Linked DNA regions of Homo sapiens: all the other regions are linked to region 1. The links are contacts of gene promoters, found by promoter capture Hi-C in blood cells and fetal thymus (Javierre and others, 2016). All regions are on one chromosome and are shown on one strand. Each heading gives the region's core, a stretch centred on a gene start or on the middle of the fragment in contact. The rest is flanking DNA. Distances are from core to core; before and after follow the strand shown. Region 1 holds the start of ABCA1 (ATP binding cassette subfamily A member 1). Region 2 has its middle 39 kb from the start of FSD1L. Region 3 overlaps SLC44A1 (solute carrier family 44 member 1). Region 4 overlaps SLC44A1 (solute carrier family 44 member 1). Region 5 overlaps SLC44A1 (solute carrier family 44 member 1). Region 6 has its middle 19 kb from the start of FSD1L. Region 7 overlaps SLC44A1 (solute carrier family 44 member 1).

Evidence for each region. The method cuts DNA at HindIII sites, captures the fragments that hold promoters and counts their contacts. A CHiCAGO score of 5 or more calls a contact.
Region 2: a fragment that was not itself captured here is called in contact with the fragment with the promoter of ABCA1 in region 1 in 17 of 17 cell types (total CD4 T cells, naive CD4 T cells, naive CD8 T cells and 14 more); the score reaches 17.4 in total CD4 T cells.
Region 3: a fragment that was not itself captured here is called in contact with the fragment with the promoter of ABCA1 in region 1 in 2 of 17 cell types (M2 macrophages and monocytes); the score reaches 5.2 in M2 macrophages.
Region 4: a contact is called between a fragment that was not itself captured here and the fragment with the promoter of ABCA1 in region 1, in 2 of 17 cell types (neutrophils and naive CD8 T cells). The highest score is 5.9, in neutrophils.
Region 5: a contact is called between a fragment that was not itself captured here and the fragment with the promoter of ABCA1 in region 1, in 11 of 17 cell types (monocytes, total B cells, total CD4 T cells and 8 more). The highest score is 9.2, in monocytes.
Region 6: a contact is called between a fragment that was not itself captured here and the fragment with the promoter of ABCA1 in region 1, in 14 of 17 cell types (total CD8 T cells, non-activated CD4 T cells, activated CD4 T cells and 11 more). The highest score is 8.3, in total CD8 T cells.
Region 7: a contact is called between a fragment that was not itself captured here and the fragment with the promoter of ABCA1 in region 1, in 14 of 17 cell types (M2 macrophages, M0 macrophages, fetal thymus and 11 more). The highest score is 8.9, in M2 macrophages.

The regions. Positions count from the first base shown.
Region 1 is chr9:104,926,535-104,929,563 of GRCh38, reverse strand. ABCA1 (ATP binding cassette subfamily A member 1) reads left to right here and starts at 1,409. Exons shown (of 50, transcript NM_005502.4): 1 at 1,409-1,629. It overlaps LOC105376196 (a long non-coding RNA gene), which reads right to left and starts at 2,775. Exons shown (of 3, transcript NR_188620.1): 1 at 1,654-2,775; 2 at 1-56. RefSeq lists silencers at 1,250-1,439, 2,776-3,015 and enhancers at 1,640-1,719, 2,040-2,099. The HindIII fragment of the contact is 9,744 bases long and covers 1-3,029 here.
Region 2 is chr9:105,407,179-105,409,931 of GRCh38, reverse strand. It overlaps a transcript of SLC44A1 not described here. Among named protein-coding and RNA genes, the nearest start is that of FSD1L, 39 kb to the left of the region's middle. The HindIII fragment of the contact is 5,811 bases long and covers 1-2,753 here.
Region 3 is chr9:105,331,357-105,334,239 of GRCh38, reverse strand. All of the region lies in intron 3 of SLC44A1 (solute carrier family 44 member 1), which reads right to left. Among named protein-coding and RNA genes, the nearest start is that of SLC44A1, 88 kb to the right of the region's middle. The HindIII fragment of the contact is 1,178 bases long and covers 977-2,154 here.
Region 4 is chr9:105,347,337-105,350,218 of GRCh38, reverse strand. SLC44A1 (solute carrier family 44 member 1) reads right to left here. Exons shown (of 16, transcript NM_080546.5): 5 at 1,768-1,861. Among named protein-coding and RNA genes, the nearest start is that of FSD1L, 99 kb to the left of the region's middle. The HindIII fragment of the contact is 4,132 bases long and covers 1-2,882 here.
Region 5 is chr9:105,387,645-105,390,344 of GRCh38, reverse strand. It overlaps SLC44A1 (solute carrier family 44 member 1), which reads right to left. Exons shown (of 16, transcript NM_080546.5): 16 at 1-1,312. The coding sequence ends at 1,289. Among named protein-coding and RNA genes, the nearest start is that of FSD1L, 59 kb to the left of the region's middle. The HindIII fragment of the contact is 2,549 bases long and covers 137-2,685 here.
Region 6 is chr9:105,427,973-105,430,958 of GRCh38, reverse strand. It overlaps a transcript of SLC44A1 not described here. Among named protein-coding and RNA genes, the nearest start is that of FSD1L, 19 kb to the left of the region's middle. The HindIII fragment of the contact is 6,517 bases long and covers 1-2,986 here.
Region 7 is chr9:105,369,033-105,371,840 of GRCh38, reverse strand. All of the region lies in intron 12 of SLC44A1 (solute carrier family 44 member 1), which reads right to left. Among named protein-coding and RNA genes, the nearest start is that of FSD1L, 78 kb to the left of the region's middle. The HindIII fragment of the contact is 615 bases long and covers 1,228-1,842 here.

The DNA.
Region 1 (3,029 bases), core at 160-2,659:
GCTTGTGCAGCTGAATGTCTGTATGCAGGTGGTGGGAGTTCTGGAATATGATGGAGCTGGAGGTGGGAAGAGAAGTAGGCTTGGGGCAGCTCTCTCATGCCACCTCATTCTGGCCAAAACTCAGGTCAAACTGTGAAGAGTCTAAATGTGAATCTGCCCTTCAAGGTGGCTACAAAGGTATCTTTGTCAAGGTAGGAGACCTTGTGGCCTCCACGTGCACTTCCAGGGCCTGCTTGGGCCTCTTCTACGGGTCTGTCCTGAGTCTTCTATGAATCTGCCCTTCAGGGCAGATTCATATTTAGACTCTTCACAGTTTGACCTGAGTTTTGGCCAGAATAAGGTGACATTTAGTTTGTTGGCTTGATGGATGACTTAAATATTTAGACATATGGTGTGTAGGCCTGCATTCCTACTCTTGCCTTTTTTTTTGCCCCTCCAGTGTTTTGGGTAGTTTTGCTCCCCTACAGCCAAAGGCAAACAGATAAGTTGGAGGTCTGGAGTGGCTACATAATTTTACACGACTGCAATTCTCTGGCTGCACTTCACAAATGTATACAAACTAAATACAAGTCCTGTGTTTTTATCACAGGGAGGCTGATCAATATAATGAAATTAAAAGGGGGCTGGTCCATATTGTTCTGTGTTTTTGTTTGTTTGTTTCTTTTTTTGTTTTTGTGGCCTCCTTCCTCTCAATTTATGAAGAGAAGCAGTAAGATGTTCCTCTCGGGTCCTCTGAGGGACCTGGGGAGCTCAGGCTGGGAATCTCCAAGGCAGTAGGTCGCCTATCAAAAATCAAAGTCCAGGTTTGTGGGGGGAAAACAAAAGCAGCCCATTACCCAGAGGACTGTCCGCCTTCCCCTCACCCCAGCCTAGGCCTTTGAAAGGAAACAAAAGACAAGACAAAATGATTGGCGTCCTGAGGGAGATTCAGCCTAGAGCTCTCTCTCCCCCAATCCCTCCCTCCGGCTGAGGAAACTAACAAAGGAAAAAAAAATTGCGGAAAGCAGGATTTAGAGGAAGCAAATTCCACTGGTGCCCTTGGCTGCCGGGAACGTGGACTAGAGAGTCTGCGGCGCAGCCCCGAGCCCAGCGCTTCCCGCGCGTCTTAGGCCGGCGGGCCCGGGCGGGGGAAGGGGACGCAGACCGCGGACCCTAAGACACCTGCTGTACCCTCCACCCCCACCCCACCCACCTCCCCCCAACTCCCTAGATGTGTCGTGGGCGGCTGAACGTCGCCCGTTTAAGGGGCGGGCCCCGGCTCCACGTGCTTTCTGCTGAGTGACTGAACTACATAAACAGAGGCCGGGAACGGGGCGGGGAGGAGGGAGAGCACAGGCTTTGACCGATAGTAACCTCTGCGCTCGGTGCAGCCGAATCTATAAAAGGAACTAGTCCCGGCAAAAACCCCGTAATTGCGAGCGAGAGTGAGTGGGGCCGGGACCCGCAGAGCCGAGCCGACCCTTCTCTCCCGGGCTGCGGCAGGGCAGGGCGGGGAGCTCCGCGCACCAACAGAGCCGGTTCTCAGGGCGCTTTGCTCCTTGTTTTTTCCCCGGTTCTGTTTTCTCCCCTTCTCCGGAAGGCTTGTCAAGGGGTAGGAGAAAGAGACGCAAACACAAAAGTGGAAAACAGGTAAGAGGCTCTCCAGTGACTTACTTGGGCGTTATTGTTTTGTTTCGAGGCCAAGGAGGCTTCGGGAAGTGCTCGGTTTCGGGGACTTTGATCCGGAGCCCCACATCCCCACCACTTGCAACTCAGATGGGACCGGAGGCGGTGTTAAATGGGGAGACGATGTCCTAGTACGAGCTCTGGTGACCCCAGGACTCTGCGCTGCTGCGCTTGGGGCTTGCCCGACGGTGGAGACCGGGGAGCATCTCTGGGCGTGGAGACCCGGGCGCAGTACCCCGGGCTCAGAGGGGTCGGGGGTTCCCGGGCGTGCTGAGGGCGCTGCTGCCGGGTGGGGAGAGCTGCAGGTCCGGCACCGAGCGCTGCTTTGTTCGGAGGGCCCTGAGCTGGCTAGAAACCCTTCTGGTTGCAGGTCGGCCAGTACCTACGGAGACAAATGCCAGCACTGAGTCTTCACTCGGTTCTTAAGAAGCTGGTCTGTTCTGACCTGGGAATTGGCTATATGCTCCCCGGGACTGGAGCGGCACAGTCCCGGACTGTGAATCCGGGAACTCGAGTTGGAGGTGTCCCAAACGGTCCGTGGTGCTATTGCTCACTAGAGGCCTTGGGTCTTTGTTTGACCTGAGGGGTAGGGAGGTCCTGCCTACAGTCTCCGTGCGCTCAGCTGAGCTGGTGTCCCTGGCGCAGAGCGCGGACGAGTTTTGTTTCCTTTTCTTTTTCTTTTTTTTCTTTCCTTTAAGTCTCGGTCTGTCGCCCAGGCTGGAGTGCAATGGAACGATCTCCGCTCACTGCAACCTCCGCCTCCCGGGTTCAAGCGATTCTCCTGCCTCAGCCTCCTGAGTAGCTGGGATTACAGGCGCGTCACCACATCCAGCTAATTTTTGTATTTTTAGTAGAGACGGGGTTTCAACTTGTTGGCCAGGCTGGTCTCGAACCCTCGACCTCAGGTGATCCACCGGCCTCGGCCTCCCCAAGTGCTGGGATTATAGGCGTGAGCCACCGCGCGCGGCCGAGTTTTGTTTCTTTTAAAAACAAGACTTAGGAGAGCCTGCGGAGACCCGGAGGTGGGGTGCCCAATCCTCCCTCTCCCACGTTCCCTGCAGCCCCATCTTCCAGACCGTTGCTGCTGGTCTCTCGGGGCAGCTTCTGCCTGGGCGCAGATGGGGAAGCTGGGCCGAGGTGGTGCCGTGGAATGACCGGGAGTAACCCCGGCGGGCGGCGCAGAACTCGGAGCTCCGCCGCGGGGCTGGGCTGGGCTCTGCCGTGAGGGTGGGGGTGCTGGGCGCGCGGGCTGCGGTGGCCCCCGGAGACTGGCCCGCAGCGCCTCCTGGCCGGAGGACCTAGGAATCGGCCGGCTCTACTAGGTGTCTTTGCTCGCGGTTCCGACTGTGAATCCGGTGAAGACC
Region 2 (2,753 bases), core at 40-2,539, 480 kb before region 1:
GAATGATCCATGTGCACTTCAGAAGAATAGTGTTGAATAAAGTGCTCTACAGATGTCTATTATGTCTAGTTGGTGTATGATGCTCTTCAAGTCTTCTATTTTCTTCTTGATCTTCTGTCTAGTTATTCTATCCATTTTGAAAATGAAATATTGAAGTCTCAACTATTATTGTTGATTTGTCTATTTCTCCATTTAATTCTGTTAGTTTCTGTTTCGTGTACTGTGGATTCTCTTATTAGATGCACATATGCTTATTTTTTATTTTGTCACCAAGGCTGGAGTGCAGTGGCGTGATCATAGCTCACTGCAACCTCGACCTCCTGGGCTCAAGGGATCTTCCCACCTTAGCCTCCTGAGTAGCTAGAACTACCAGCACACGCCACTACACCCGACTAATTTTAAAACTTTTTGTAGAGACAGGGTCTTGTTTTGTTGCTGAGGCTGGTCTCGAACACCTAGGCTCAAGTGACCCTCCCATTTTGGCCTCCCAAAGTGTTGGGATTACAAGGGTGAGCCACTGCACTTGGCCCACATATGTTTATAATTGCTATATGTTATTGATGCATTGTTCCTTTTATGACTATAAAATGTCCTCTCTAGTAACAATTTTTGTCTTACTGGCTGTTTTGTCTGATATTTCTATAGCTACTCCAGTTCTCTTTTGATGACTATTTGCATGGAATATCTTTTTCCATCTTTTCACTTTCATCCTATTTGTGTCTTTGGACGTAAATTGAGTCTCTTGCAGATATTATATAGTTGGAGTCTGTTTTTTAATCTATGCCACTAACTCTGCCTTTTAACTGAAGAGTTTAATCCATTTACATTTTAAAAAACTGGTAAGTAAGGCCTTGCTTCTGCCATTTTGTTGTTTATTTCCTTTATATCATATCTGTGTCTTCTCTTATGTTTAATTGATTTTTCTAGTGTATTATTTTGATTCTCATTTCCTTTTATGAATGTATATTTTTAGTTATTTTGTTAATGTTACCTTGGGGGTTATAATTAACATCCTAAATTTATAATAATTTAGTTTGAATTAATACCAATTTAGCTTAAATAATGTACAAACACTGTGTTCCTATGTAGCTCCACCTTCTCCCTTTATGTTGTTATTGTCATACATTATATCTTTATACATTGTGTGTTCATTCAGATACATTTATAATTATTGTTTTATGCATTTGCCTTTTAAATCATGTAGAAAAAAAGTGAGTGACAGGCCGGGTGCGGTGGCTCACGCCTGTAATCCCAGCACTTTGGGAAGCCGAGGTGGGTGGATCACCTGAGGTCAGGAGTTCGAGACCAGCCTGGGCAACATGGTAAAACTCTGTCTCTACTAAAAAAGACAAAAATTAGCCAGATGTGGTGGCATGCACCTGTAGTCCCAGCTACTCAGGAGGCTGAGGCAGGAGAATCACTTGAACCCAGGAGGTGGAGGTTGCAGTGAGCTGAGATCATGCCACTACACTCAGCCTGAGCAACAGAGCAAGACTCCGTCTCAAATACAACAACAACAACAACAACAAATGAGTGACAAACAAAAAATACAATAATACTAGCTTTTATGTTTACCTATGTAGTTTCCTTACTGATGTTTTTATTTTTTATTTTTTTGTATAGCTAGAGTTACTTGTGTTCTTTCATTTCTTCCTGAATAATTTCCCTTAGCATTTCTCATAGGGCAGGTCTACTAGAAGCAAACTTCCTCAACTTTTGTTTGTATGAGAATGTCTTGATTTCTTTCAGTTTTTTGTTTTTATTTTATTTTATTTTTTGAGACGGAATCTCAGTCTGTCGCCCAGGCTGGAGTGCAGTGGCGAGATCTCGGCTCACAGCAGCCTCCGCCTCCCAGGTTCAAGCAATTCTCCTGCCTGAGCTGGGATTACAGGCGCCTACCACTATGCCAGCTAATTTTTGTATCTTTAGTATAGACAGGGTTTCACCATGTTGGCCAGGCTGGTCTCCAACTCCTGACCTCAGGTGATCCACCTGCCTCGGCCTCTCAAAGTGCTGGGATTACAGGTGTGAGCCATCGTGCCTGGCCTTATTTTTATTTTTTGAGACAGAGTCTTGGTCTGTTGTCCAGGCTGGAGTGCAGTGGCATGATCTCAGCTCACTGTAATCTCCACCTCCCAGGTTCAAGTGATTCTCCTGCTTCAGCCTCCCAAGTAGCTGGGATTACAGACATGTGCCATCACGCCCAGCTAATTTTTGTATTTTTAGTATAGACAAGGCTTCCTCATGTTGGCCAGGCTGGTCTTGAACTCCTGACCTCAGGTAATCCGCCTGCCTCAGCCTCCCAAAGTGCTGAGATTACAGTGGGATTACAGGTGTGAGCCACTGTGCCTGGCCTTCTTTCAGTTTTGGTGGAGAATTTTATTGAATACAGGATTCTTGATTAACAATTGTTTTTCTTTCAGGGTTACTATACATCATCCCTCATTCTGATAAATCAGGGAATAATCTTATTAAGGATCACTTATATGTAGTGAGCTGCTTCCCTCTTGCTGCACTCAATATTTTCTATGTTTCTTTGTCAACAATTTGGTTATAATCTGTTTGAGTGTGGATCTCTTTAGGTTTATTTTATGTGGAGTTTGTCGAGCTTCTTAGATGTGCATTCATGTCTTTATCACTTTTGAGGAGTTTTCAACCATTATTTCTTCAAGTATTTTTTTCTTTATAGCCCAGACCTTATAAGACAATATTTCTTCAAATATTCTTTCTGCTCCTTTCTTTCTCTCTTCTCT
Region 3 (2,883 bases), core at 316-2,815, 400 kb before region 1:
TGTGTGTGTGACCCTATCAGTGACTCCAAACCCATTAATGTTCTATCTATGCAGATAGAAGGAAAGAAAAAAAGCCAGGCAGAAAGATGAGGTTTAGAAGTAGGTTTTGTGGACTGTTTCCATGGCTGATAACAAGGAAGCAGGGCATACAGAGAATTGTTTCTGGCAACTTCTGAGTAGAAACAAGCATTCTCTTACTAATTCTCCCTTCTTCTATCCTGGGCGTCTGACTAAGCATGTCTATGCCTTTGACCCTGTATAATGAATTGCACAAAGACAGATTCTGGACAGGGAACAATCAGGTCCTTGAGAAATGTGTCACAAAACCTTTGAATCAACCACTACTGCTACCACCACCACCACCACTATCACTGCTACCATTGCCATCACCACCACCATCACTACTAAGAATACTTCTTTTTTTTTTTTTGAGATGGAGTTCTGCCCTGTTGCACAGGCTGGAGTGCAATGGCATGGTCTCAGCTGACTGCAACCTCAGCCTTTGAGGTTCAAACGATTCTCCTGCCTCAGCCTCCTGAGTAGCTGGAATTACAGGCACCTACTACCACACCCGGCTAATTTTTGTATTTTTAGTAGAAACGGGGTTTCACCATGTTGGCCAGGCTGGTCTTGAACTCCTGACCTCAGGTGATCCACCCGCCTTGGCCTCCCAAAGTGCTGGGATTACAGGTATGATAAGCCACTGTGCCTGGCCTAATAATACTTAATGATAAAGACTTTTAAAAATGATAGCCAATTTTATTGAGTACTTACTATTTATCAGACACCGTATTAAACACTTTACATGTATTAACTCATTTAACTCTCACAGTAATTCTGTTGTGTGTTTCTCTATGGGGTGGGAGGTGGGCAGTGGAACTGGGATGGGAGAGAGGCATTGAGTACACAGTTCTAAGTGATGAGCAATGCCTTGAGAACCATCTGGGGAAATCACATCACAGTAGAAAAAGAAGCTTAGGGAAAAGGAAAAAAAAGCCAGAAGCTGCCAGGGCCTTGCTGCTGGGCCTAGGCTGGATCAATGACAACCTCTTGAGAATAGATACACTGTCTGTCCTGTAGGCTTCAGCCTCCTCCAAGGGCAAAAGTATCCCTATTATATTTCTAACTTCTTTTATACCTTAAAACATATTCCTTTGATTTATGCTAGTGACTGGGCAGCAACCTTATCCCTTGCTTTAGTCAGACCAATGTGAACTTGCTTTCTGGTTCTCTCTTAATAGTTCTCTGACCTTGGAAAATATATTTATCCTTCTGAGCCTCAGTTTCCTTATCTGAAAAATTACATATCACCGATTTTATAGTTTGTTGTAATGTGATCAATAATATATATAAAGCACCTAACATAGTATGCACTCAGTGATTCGTGTCATTACCATTAAGAATACTATTTGCTTTCCATACATCTTACATTTCATAGTAAGGAACTAAACTCAACCCTTTCTTATATGGGCATAAAACAGGGATACAATACTAACATTCGGTTTTCATTTAGGAAAAAAAAATCTGTGTAGGAGTATTCATGACTAAGGGTAAGGTCATTACCCTTGAGAACCAAGTAGGCCCCCAAAACAGATCCAGCACAAAGAAAACAAGAACAGGAGGGTGAGAAGAATGCTACCATGACTACAACACTGTGAAATTAACACTGCACATTTTTCAGCCTGTGTATATGGTTTGAAAAGATCTAAAAACTTATTTGAATAAGAAATACACATCTTCAAGAAATACACACTCACATACATCACATGTTTACACTCTGTATCTTACCTGCCTTCCATAGTCTAAGAATATATTAAGCTGGCCAGGTGCAGTGGCTCAAGCCTGTAAACCCAGCACTTTGGGAGGCCAAGGTGGGCAGATCGCTTAAGGTCAGGAGTTGGAGACAAGCCTGGACAACATGGTGAAACCCCATCTCTACCAAAAACACAAAAATTAGCTGAGTGTGGTGGCAGGCACCTGTAATTCCAGCTACTTGGGAGGCTGAGGCAGGAGAATCGCTTGAACCCAGGAGGCGGAGATTGCAGTGAGCCGAGGTCGCACCACCGCACTCCAGCCTGGGCAACAGAGCGAGACTGTGTCTCAAAAAAAAAAAAAAAAAAAGAAACAAAGAAGGAAAAGAAAAGATATTAAGCTTAATTCTCTATGCCTTTCACATATTCAAATGCACACACATGAAGTTAAAAATAACATACAGACCTTGACCTTAGGTTCAGATTCTATTAACATTTGTTGGGTGTGTAGGTGTTAGTCACTGTCACATTCAAGAACTTATTTGATCTTTGCAACAACTCTGTGAGGTAGGGGCCATAACTATTCCAAAGATGTTAAAACTGAGGCCTTGAGGCCTAACCACCAGGCCCAAGAGAGCTAGTAGGTGCCAAAGCATGAATTCAAACATAGTACCTCTGATTCTGAGTTTCACTGTTTCCATTCTGCACTATTCCAAAATATTTCCTACAAATATCATTAGTAAATTTAACTGTTCTCTATTAACTTTGAATATTCTGTTTCCAGCATTCTGAAGTTCATCCAATCCATGGCAACATGCTTAAAAGTAATTATACTTTAACTAATTCATATTTAACTGAATATTTATAGGAGGCCAAGTGCTTGTATCAAACCAATTTATGATTTATTAAAACTGCACTTTCTTGCCTTTTGATTGGAAAATGTCCTTAACCAGGTAAATAAATGCTTACATTAGTTTTTCAGTTTTCACTTTAAACAAAATGAACTGATAGTTTTATTTTTAGACAATGAAACAAATAATCGTAATAAGCATGGTATTGACAAACCAGATTATTGTAACTGAAAACTACAGATGAGTATTTCAGCTGAGAGGGTAACACGCAGTATCCACCT
Region 4 (2,882 bases), core at 68-2,567, 420 kb before region 1:
GTGATAACATACTTAGACTGTGATGCACTAAAATAAGTAAAACATAAGGATCTTTAAACACAGCATAAACACAGCATGCCGTCAGTTTTCAGATGGTATAGGTTCAGCACTGCATTTTAGATTAGTGAGATATCAGATGATGACCTTGTTAGAAGCCATTTCTGTCCATCTCTAAAATCTTCTCCCCTAATACTATTCTTTGTCTTCCAGTGAATACCCCTAGGACATTGTGAGATGCATGTGTGTACCAAAAACTGGAAAACCCAAAATAACCAGGAACAGGCAGTCCTCAACATAGTGGCATCAGAGGTCAGAGGCGGGGAAGGATGTGCAGGATGAGCTGAGCTGCCCCCACCTGACATCCTGCCCCTATTACACAGGAGCAGAGACCTCCCTCTCACACCCAGGCTTTCTGGCTATACTGTCATAATATGTTTTAATCTTGAGAGCATGATTCTATATTCAAAGAATATATTTAAAACAGACTTTACCAGTTGGATAGATAAGGGTATAGAGCTTTTCTAATTTTTATATGGATAAATTTTCTCCTAAGACTATTCAAAGGATCCCCTTTTCTTTACTCCCACAGCCTCCCTAATATTCTCAATTTATATGAATGTAATCTCCGTAGCTGTTGGTTTAAGGCCATAATTTGTAAGTCTCTCTTACTATCTTTTAAAATAGTCCCTTTAGTTTTATGTCTACAGGCTTTAAATTTTGATTTTTCAATAGCAACTTGACAAGATTAATGAGCTGAAAATATATTTAACTGATATATCTTTTTTCTACTTTCAACAGAAAAATTCAAATTCAAGTTAATAAAACCCAAGTTACACCCATAAGTAATCCAAAAGAAAGTAGACATGAGTCTCAAAATTTTTTATACAACAGCTTCCTATAATATATTGAGATACAATTAAAGTGGCCTCAAGTACATTTTCCTGGAGAAGTTGACTCATGTTACACACAGTTGGCAATATACACTAAGGTTGTGATCTGACCAACACTCCAAAGTATGTGGGGGTGTGTGTGTGCACAAATATACATACACACATATACAGATACGTATACCTACCTAATTCTGAGCATATATTTTACAATGCTTGATAATTCATTTCCTTTCAAAAAATCTATTTATAATTTTAAATGTTGCTTTACTTATCACTACTTTGAGATCCTTCCAAAGAACATTTCTTGTTTCATCTTTGTATCCATCATGCACAGTAGGTACTTAATAATAAATGTTTGTTGAAGAAGACCTTGGATAAGATATAGCAAACAACCTAATACAGAGAATGTTACCTAAAAAATATAACCTGAAAGAAACTATGGGGAATAATCACTGGCAGACTTTCTAAATTTACAAAATAAATTTAAAACAATCCCAGTAAATATTACTAGGATAAATCAAAAAAACTCTTTGGAGATTGTGAGACTTGGTTTCTAAGTTTGTTGCAGATTTTACAGCAGTTCAGTGGTTTTGTGCACTTAAAAATTATGGCATGAAAATAAAAACAAAAAAAGCAAGCCCCTAAAAGAAATGAAATTTAAAATATGTCAGAACAAGAAAAGTTGGTTGCCTATGTGTTGTTTTTAAATATTAAATATATAATGTCATTTCTATTGCTACTTTAAAATTTTTTTAATAAAAGTATTGGACCTGGCCAACAGGTATCAAATGACTATTTTCTCAGAATAACATATATTGTTTAAAATTTACCTACAAAAACAACAGTCACAAGTTAACAACTTTGCAATAAAATTTACCTCGCTGGAACTGGTAGTTTGGGGCAGAGAACAGAAGATTTTGGAGATGTAGTGTATTCAGAAGGCTTTAGGTTGTAGCTACATAGGGCTGAACCTGTTGAAAGAAAAATTATGTTAGGTGGCAGAACAGTCTGAAAAAATTCTCTTACTATTCATTTTAATTTTGTATTATTCAACATATGCAACTTTCCAAACATTATAGAATTCATAAAAATCTGATTTGATCCATATTATAAGTCCTCAATCATTTAAAACTGATTCTTCTCTAAAATTACTATTAATGTAATTCATGTACAAATTTTAATTAATATTAAAGGTAATAACAATAAGTACTAGAACTACCTTTATTGAGTGTCAGGTTCTCTGCAAGATGACATTTATGCATTATACAATTTACTATAATTCTGTAAGGCAGGTATTATTAAGCCTACTTTAAAGAGAAGGAAATAGAGGCTAAGAGATAAGGTAAATAACTTGCCTAAGAACACAGAGCTAGTAGGAGTAGAACTGGGATTAAACACCACATCTCTTTCACTACAAAGCCTGTGCTCAGCTACACATTATGCCTGTTTTTCCTATGCTTTCAATTACTAAATGCTTACAATTAATGCATATAACACATGTAAATTCAGATAATACATTACTTATTTAAAAAGCAGGAAACATTCCTAACTGTAAATAAACTGAAAAAATTGATAAAACTGATAAATTGATAAAAGTGATTCCTAGTTTTCAGAGTTTAAGACAGCTTAAATTCAACTTTAGATTGGCTATGCAAAAAAAAATTAATTTTTCTGATTATATGGCCAACACATATCTAATATATGTAAAATGTACACAATGTAAAATTTACATAATACATTTATGTGTTATATAATTTACTATAACTCTATAAAGCTGGTATATACATTGATTTCCTTAGTATAGATAATTGAGATGGATAAAGTCCACTAAATCCAATATACATCTTATTTTCCTGATCCGTTAATTTTAAAATACAGCAACTAGAATACTGGAAGGTTCATTGTATAATATATTGTTAAGTGAGGAGACCCAGGCTCCAGTTCTAATTTTGCTGCATTTCATCACATAAACTGTTTATATTTGATTAACTG
Region 5 (2,700 bases), core at 162-2,661, 460 kb before region 1:
AAAATTGTAACAAAAAGGAGTTATCGCATAAACAGATCATGAATTATTCTTAGCAAATTACACTTTTTTTTCTTAAAGCATTCACCATTACAACAAGCAGAACAATGGAGTATTAGCCATTCATATCTGGTAAGCTTCAGGAATAAAAAAGCAAAAAACCCCAAACCCACCCCCAAACAAAAACAACAGTCACACTGGAGGATCAAAACATTAGCCAATTCTTCAGTTAAACATCGTAGAACTCTGGATACTCAATGAATTGCCAAGGAGAGGAGCACCTGCCAGTGTGTTTTCAGATTGTATAGCAAGCATTTGAATAAAATGGCCGTTTAACCCTAAGCCACTGACGTTACTCTGAAGCCGAAGCCCAAGCACCGGAATTTTCAATGCTTTATGTTCCATGTTTCTGTCCCTTCTTTATTCCTCCCAGCATTACTTAATCTGCAAATCAATACACAGAAACTTAAAGGCTAAACTCGCTGGGTGCCCCAGCTTCCTTTCAAATCAGGCACACAAATGTGTGGAGGATGCTACTAAAGTCAAAAAGGAAAGAAAGACAAAATATAAGGGAAAAGTTTGCATACGAAAGATTATCTACCCTTTTCTTTTTTTACCTACTTTCTTTTAAAGAAGCGTTAGGGTAAACTACAAATACCTGAGGAGTTGGTTACCTTTTAATGTTGGCTGACAAATGTATGAACTATTATGAAAATTCCCATATTGGGCCCAATTGTATGTTTCTAAAAGTAAAATGACATGGCTTCTTTGATTGGGGAAAACTGATTGGAGTAATTCCTTATTTATCTGAAAGCATATGCCTAGTCTTGACCCACTAGGACTTATGCATCAGTAAAATAAGATCTTGATTTTATACAGACATCAGGGAAATTACCCCTGAATAAACTTTAGACATAATTAGGTACAATAATTTTACCTATTTTTAAATAAAGTTAAAATCTCCTCTAAGTTATTAAAAATGTTAATCAGATATGAATTTTAACATTTCCATTAAGACAATTACAGTTGAAAACATTAAATGACGGAAGTTGCCTTGTAAAAGCCACCCGTATGAAAGGAGTACATGTTTGACAAAAATAAGCATAAAAAAGGTATTAAATCCCTGTTCCTTTTCTCTGATTTTGGCTGATTTATGTGTGTGTGTGTATATACATATACATATATACACACATACATATACATATATACACACACCCACACACACAAATACATAGTTATGTGTATATATTGTTTTGGAATGTCAATGGGTTTCCATAACCGTCGGCTAGGTTCAAGCAGAACTTGCTCCCGAAGCCTAGAAAACAAAGTCATACAGAGTATAATCTTAGACAATTACCATTAAAAGGAGATCATGAATGATGTTACAAATATACACATGGTCACAAACAGCAAGACAGCAAAATGGACTGAGAATCCTTCTCCCCTGAATTCCTGGAGCTGAAATTCTTATGAATGTTGAAAGTCACACTTTATCCAGGATCATCTCTGAGATACACAGAGCATACTTCTCTGGCCCATGTTCCTACAGTGTCTAGGATTTTTCCTCCCTTTTCTCTTTAAGTTCTTTCCTATATGATAGCAAGCAGACAGTCAGAAAATCTCTTTCCTAAACCTCTTCATCACTTTTGGTACATTTTTCCAAAATCACTTTCAGAGAATCATAAAAAAATTCATAAATCTTTAAAGTTTCCTTAACTAGCGAGCCTCTCTCAGGGAAAAGTTCAAGAACAAAACCGGAAGTTCTCATGTTTAGTTCAATGATCTGCTGTCAAAAGGAAAATATAAAACCTCATTTTACTGAACATTATTTTATAGGCTAAAAATGAAGCCTAAATTAAAATATCTCATTGAGGAGGGAGGAAGATAGTGAATTCAAACAGCAGCAATGTTTCTAGAGCTAATGCAAAATAGGCATGATGCTCTTTTATAGAACTTTCATCTACAGCAACAATATGTGAATTATATCAAGCAAATACAAATAAGCAATCCTAAATTCTATCAATCCCCAAACTTTCAGTAGAAATTTCTGAAATACTTTTTTAGAAACACATGCAAAGGAATGGTGTTAGTAGGGGCCAACTCTAATCATGCATACTATGGAAGAGAAATAAAGAAGGTACTAAGGTGCTGAAAAAATAAAACTACTCTGTGAGCAGCATTTCACACTTGTCTTCTGGGAACTTTTTAACCATTTAAAACATCATTCTTAGGGACCCAATGCTACAATGTCCAAAGCACCAGAACAATGCACATAGAAGATGTATTTTGGGATGCAGCAGAGGGTTTTTGCCATTAATCTGCAAGCAATGAACTGATGAACAGCATAAAATGAAAGCAAAAATTAAATAAAGATTTTAATGCATTGTTTGAAGTAAGGGACACTATTTCAAAACTGAAAATACTAATAGGAAACAACTCTTTCTAAAATATTTGGCATCTGGTAGAATGCCACATAACCTGGGCAATTCTCCCAGGATTATTACCTATAAATTAGGAGTTTAGGTAAGGAAAGTATACTTGCATTCTGATCTACTACAATTCATCTACCATTCATTAAAGAATACTATAGAAATCTGTGCCAACTCATGGCCACATTACCTAGTCTTCAACCTCGAAATATTTCTCCCTTTCTTTAAATGCTTATTACTGAATGATGTAATGAAAGCTTCAATCACTAGAAAG
Region 6 (2,986 bases), core at 437-2,936, 500 kb before region 1:
GTCTATAATCAAAAAGATGGAAACTTACACTTGTCGAGGATGTAGAAAAATTGGAACCCTCATACATTGCTGGTGGGAATGTAAAATGGGGCAGCTGCTGTGTAAATCAATTTGGCATTCCTCAAAAAGTTAAATACAGGATTACCATATGACCTAGGAATTCCACTCCTATGTATATAACCAAAAAAATTGAAAACGTATGTCCGCACAAAAACTTGTGTACGAATGCTCATAGCAGCATTATTCAGAATAGCGAAAAGGTGCAAATCCAACCTAAGTATCCATTAACTGATGAATAAATGAACGAAATATAATATATCACACATCAGAACATTATTCAGCCATAAAAAGAGATGAAATATTGGTATATGCTACAACATTATTGAAACTTGAAAACATGCTAAGTGAAAAGCTGACAAAAATAATTCTACATATTGTATAATTTCTTTCACGTGAATCCAAAATAGGCAAATCCACAGCAAAATAAAGTAGAATAGTGGTTTCCAGGGGCTGGGTGAGGGGAATAGGCACTGAATGCTAAAAGGCATGGAGTTTCTCTTTGGGCCAATGAAATGTTCTAGAGTCACGTGGTGGTCTTAGTTGCACAGCTTTGTGCATTTGCCAAAAACCATGAAGTAAACACTTTAAAATGGTCAGTGTTATGATATGTTAATGATATCTTAATTTTTTAAAAAAGAGAAAGAAAATAACTATGAAATAATTTAGTAATAGATGATTGAGCTCCACATCATAAGAACTATAATTAGGCCAGGCGTGGTGGCTCATGCCTGTAATTCAGGCACGGGGAAGCCAAGGGAAGAGGATTGCTTGAGCCAAGGAGCTGGAGACATAGAGGGACCATGTCTCTACAAAAAATTTAAAAATTCGCCGGGCATTGGCGGCACATGCCTGTAGTCCCAGCTACTCAGGGGGCTGAGGCAGGAGGATCACTGAGGCAGGAGGAGCCTGGAAGGGTCAAAGCTGTGGTGAGCTGTAATCATGCCACTGCACTCCAGCCTGAGCAACAAAATGAGACCCTGTCTCAAAATATATATATATACTTGTAATTTTACAACCTATAATTAAGGTATACACATGCATAAAGAAATATGAAAGAAGATTTAAATAAAATTGAGATCACACCAAATTTCTGCATACCTTGAAATGGTTCCTAAAAGGCTTCTCCGTATTTGAAGATTTAAGTGTTAATGTTTTTACTATTTGCAATAAATTCTAAATCTTGGATGATGATTAATCTGTAACTTCATTGAGGTAAGCACTTTTTCCAAGGGTACATCTTTATTGTTTTCCCCTCAGTAGGCATAATTACTGTCAAAAATTAAGGTAATACAGAAGGGCCAGGTGTTGTGGTGCATGCCTATAATCTCAGCACTTTGAGAGGTCAACGCAGGAGGATAGCTTGAGCCCAGGAGTTTGAGAGCAGCCTGCACAACATGGCAAAACCTTGTCTCTACAGAAAATTCAAAAATTAGCCAGGCACGGTGGCACATACTTGTAGTCCCAGCTACTCGGGAGGCTGAGGTGGGAGGATGGCTTGAGCCAAGAAGGCGGAGGTTGCGGTGAGCTGTGATCGTGCCACTGCACTCCAGCCTGGATGACAGAGCCAGACCTCGTCTCAAAACAAAAACGAAAACAAACCAAAAAGATTAAAGTAATACAGAAAAGCCCTACTCCTAAATCACTCTAACCTTTGAGATAATCTGGTTTTATATCCTTTCAGTTCTTCCTTTTAAGGCAAGATACGAATTGTGTGCCCTGTGGATGTGGAAGCGTATCACTTACCTGTGAGTGAGACAAGGAAACAGCCACTGTGGAGATGTGAATGCAGCTTTGTTTTATTTTTTGACCATATGCCCAGTAACTCATTAAAAGTTTGAAGTGAGTATTCCTGCACCATTCAAGAATATCCGAATTTATTAAAGTTATGAATAACCGGCCGGGTGTGGTGGCTCATGCCTGTAATCCCAGCACTCTGGGAGGCTAAGGCAGGCGGATCACGAGGTCAGGAGATCGAGACCATCCTGGCCAACATGGTGAAACCCTGACTCTACTAAAAATACAAAAATTAGCTGGGCGTGGTGGCGCGTGCCTGTAGTCCCAGCTACTACAACTCCAGAGGGTGAGGCAGGAGAATCGCTTAAACCCAGGAGGCGGAGGCTGTAGGGCGCCGAGATTGCGCCACTGCCCTCCAGCCTGCGCAATGGGAACGAGACTCCATCTCAAAAAAAAAAGTTATGAATAACTTCATCGATATCATAGTCATAATTCTAGTAGTGAATGCATACTGTACTAAATGTTTCCTAGGTAGCACAGCCCATGCTGACTGTTCTGCATACTCAGGATAATGGAATCCTCCCAACAATCAGTCTTTTACAGATGGGGAAACTGAGAATTAGATGGGCTAAGTAACTTGCCCAGGACCAAAAAGATGGCAGAGCTAGGATCTGAACCCAGATGTGGTTGATCACAGAGTCTAAACTCTGAACAACTATACTTCTTAGAATATCATAGATCTACTCCATGTGACAAAATATCCACACAAGTTGATGGGGGAAGGAATAAATTGCATAACAAATGGGCCTGACTCCATATTATATCACAAAATTATTTCTAGCTATTAATAAGTATAAAAAGTGAAAGGAAACCATTAAAAATAGAATATAAATTGTATCTTAATTTATAAAAGAAAATAATTTTTTAAAAATAGAAAATATAGGTAACTATTTAACTGATTTGGGGGCGTAAGGGAATTATCAATAAATTTACTGATTTGGGGGCTTAAGGAAATTATCAAAAATTTACATCGTATAGATTATAGGTAAAATTATCACCAGCAAAATTAAAAGACAAACTACAAAGAAGGAAAAAGATTTGCTACTAATATGACCGAAAAAGTACTAGTATCCCTAATACATAAAAATCTTTTATTCAACAGTAGGAAAAATGGTGACATCTCAATAACAAA
Region 7 (2,808 bases), core at 286-2,785, 440 kb before region 1:
CAGTTCCCTAAGTACTCACAAAACACCCAGTTAACAATTTATTCTATAGCAGGGGTGGTCAACCTACCACCTGCAGGCCATATCTGGCCTGCCAATTACTTTTTTTTTTTTTTTTTTTTTGTGAGATGGAGTCTCACTCTGTCGCCCAGGCTGAAGTGCAGAGGCACGATCTCAGCTCACTGCAAGCTCTGCCTCCCGGGTTCACACCATTCTCCTGCCTCAGCCTCCCGAGTAGCTGGGACTACAGGCACCCGGCTAATTTTTTGTATTTTTAGTAGAGACGGGGTTTCACCGTGTTAGCTAGGATGGTCTCGATCTCCTGGCCTTGTGATCCACAAGGCCTCCTTGGCCTCCCAAAGTGCTGGGATTACAGGCGTGAGCCACCGCACCTGGCCTGCCAATTACTTTTGTAAATAAAGTTTTACTGGCACATAACTGTGCTCATTGTTTACATATTGTCTATGGCTGCTTTCATGCTACGGTGATGGAACTGTGCCGTCGTGAAAGATCCTGTATGGCCCACAAAGCCAAAAATATTTACTCTCTGGTCCCTCACAGAGAAAGCTTGCTGACCTCCTGTTCTAGAGTACTGCCAAGGATTAATATCAACCTCATCTACTCACTCATCTACTGTATGTGGAACCCACCCTCTTACTGGAAATACAAACCACATTTGCTCATTTCAAGTTTTAGTAACTTCCTCCACAACTTCCAATCTTTCAGCATCTTTCACTGTAATTCTTCAGTTCAACAATTTAATTGACAAAGGTCTTCAGTGATCTGGGATATAACTCCTTTGAAGAGAAATACCTTATTTCCCACATTCTAAGATATAATCAAGAGACTAATGAGCCAGTTATTCATAACAAGTTTTTGGGAGAAAATATCCTACCATATTAAATACACATATTGATTATGAGATACATCCTGATACTAAATAGCTTCATAATGTCTAGAATCAAGGAAATTGGACAACCCATTTAAATCAACTAGGTACTAGCTTATGTTCACTCCCGCCCTCAATGGGAACAACTCACTCTTAACTAAAGTGTTCTGCCCTTTCCAGTTTACCATGAATTTCCTTGAGACGGAAGCAAGAAAGGACCCACACGTCTCCATTCTCTCTCCTCTGTTATCATCAGACCAGCTTACACGAGGAGAATGCCCAACACTTCCAAACTAAACTATAAAAGCTTTTTTTGTTTCCCTCATTAGTTTTTAGAAGCTTCATTTCATTTGAGAATTATTATTATTCCTCTTTTGCTTCTTTCTTATCACCCCACCCTGCCCCATTCCATCTGCTTTTAGGGCAGAAGTCTATTTGTTGGTAGATAAGCAGCAATAATTTCTTTTCTCCACCCCTCTGAGAAATTTCTGTGAGGGTCGAATGTCCAGAAATTTAGCCTTTTAAAAGGCAATATTTCTATGGATCTATGCAATTCCTTTGTATTCAACCCAACTGAAAAAAAGTAGGTGGATATTTTGCAAGCTCTTTCACTCACTCCCAAGGTAGGAAGATGAACTGGATACACAAAGGTCAAGATGACCTCTTCAGGAAGAAAAATGTGCTGCAGATCACAGCAGGCAAATGAAAATTCCCTCCTTTTCTATACTTCCTAGTCTAAAATAATTCTTGCTTAAGTTCTTAAGAATTTCGGAGTCCTTTGTGGCTTTCCCTGATAACTATTCTCTGAGCTTTCTTCAGACTTCTTGGTTGAGATTTTTAGAGTCCACCCACCTTCTCAGACAGCCTTCCTTATCTGGAGTTAAACTGCCCACAGACAGACATCACTGATTAACATTTAGCCCACGCTCAACATTTGCTTGGGCAGGACACAAGCTTGAGAATATTCAACCCCCAGGAGCAAGGTGAAGGATGACCACCATCCAGGAATCTTTTTAAAGGATGCCTGTTAGCCTACGCAATCCCTGGTTGTACTTTTGTGTGATGGGATATAGTTAAAAAGTACTGATCATGTGAAAGAAAATATGTTAGGGCAGAGGGTCACCATGCATGGAACAGGCCTGTGTGGCCATCTGTCCCAGAATACAACTTCTTCATTTTCACATCTTCTTTCCTTTCTCTAGTGAAGGACCCAGAAATTCTCTTAAAGTTTAAAATATTCACATAATGACTCACTTAATAGGGGCAAGCTACACAATAATGCTAAGGGAATATAGGGTATGTGCAGTTCTGTGTGGATTCGTATAAATTAAAGAAATGAAAGGGTAATTACAATTATTCCTTTCTTATTTGAGGCAAAGGAGAGAAGGGGAATGCTATGGTCTGAATGTTTGTGTCTTCTCAAAGTTGGTATGTTGAAACATAGTCAGCAAGGTAATGGTATTAGTAGGTAGGGTCTTCAGGAGGTGATTAGGTCATGAGGGCTCTACTCTCATGAATGGATTAGTGCCCTTATTTAAAAAAATACCCCAAAGAGCTGTTTTGTCTCTTCCACCATGTGAAGTCACAGCAAGAAAGCACCATCTCTGAACCAGGAAACAGGCCCGCACAAACCACTGAATTTGCTGGTGCCTTGTTCTTGGATTTCCCAGCCTCTAGAACTATTGGAATAGTTCTCATCAACTACATAACTATGAAAAATAAATTTCTGTTGTTTAGAAGCCACCTAGTGTATGGTATTTTGTTATAGAAGCCTGAACAGATTAAGACAGGGCACAAAGTCAAACCCATACTGTAGGCTTTATCTAATTTTGTTCTAAATTCTTAGACTTTTTCAAGGTCATAAAAATTACAAGTGTGTTGCAAATCTTAATTTCAACAGGCTTTCTTTCTTTTTTCTTGAA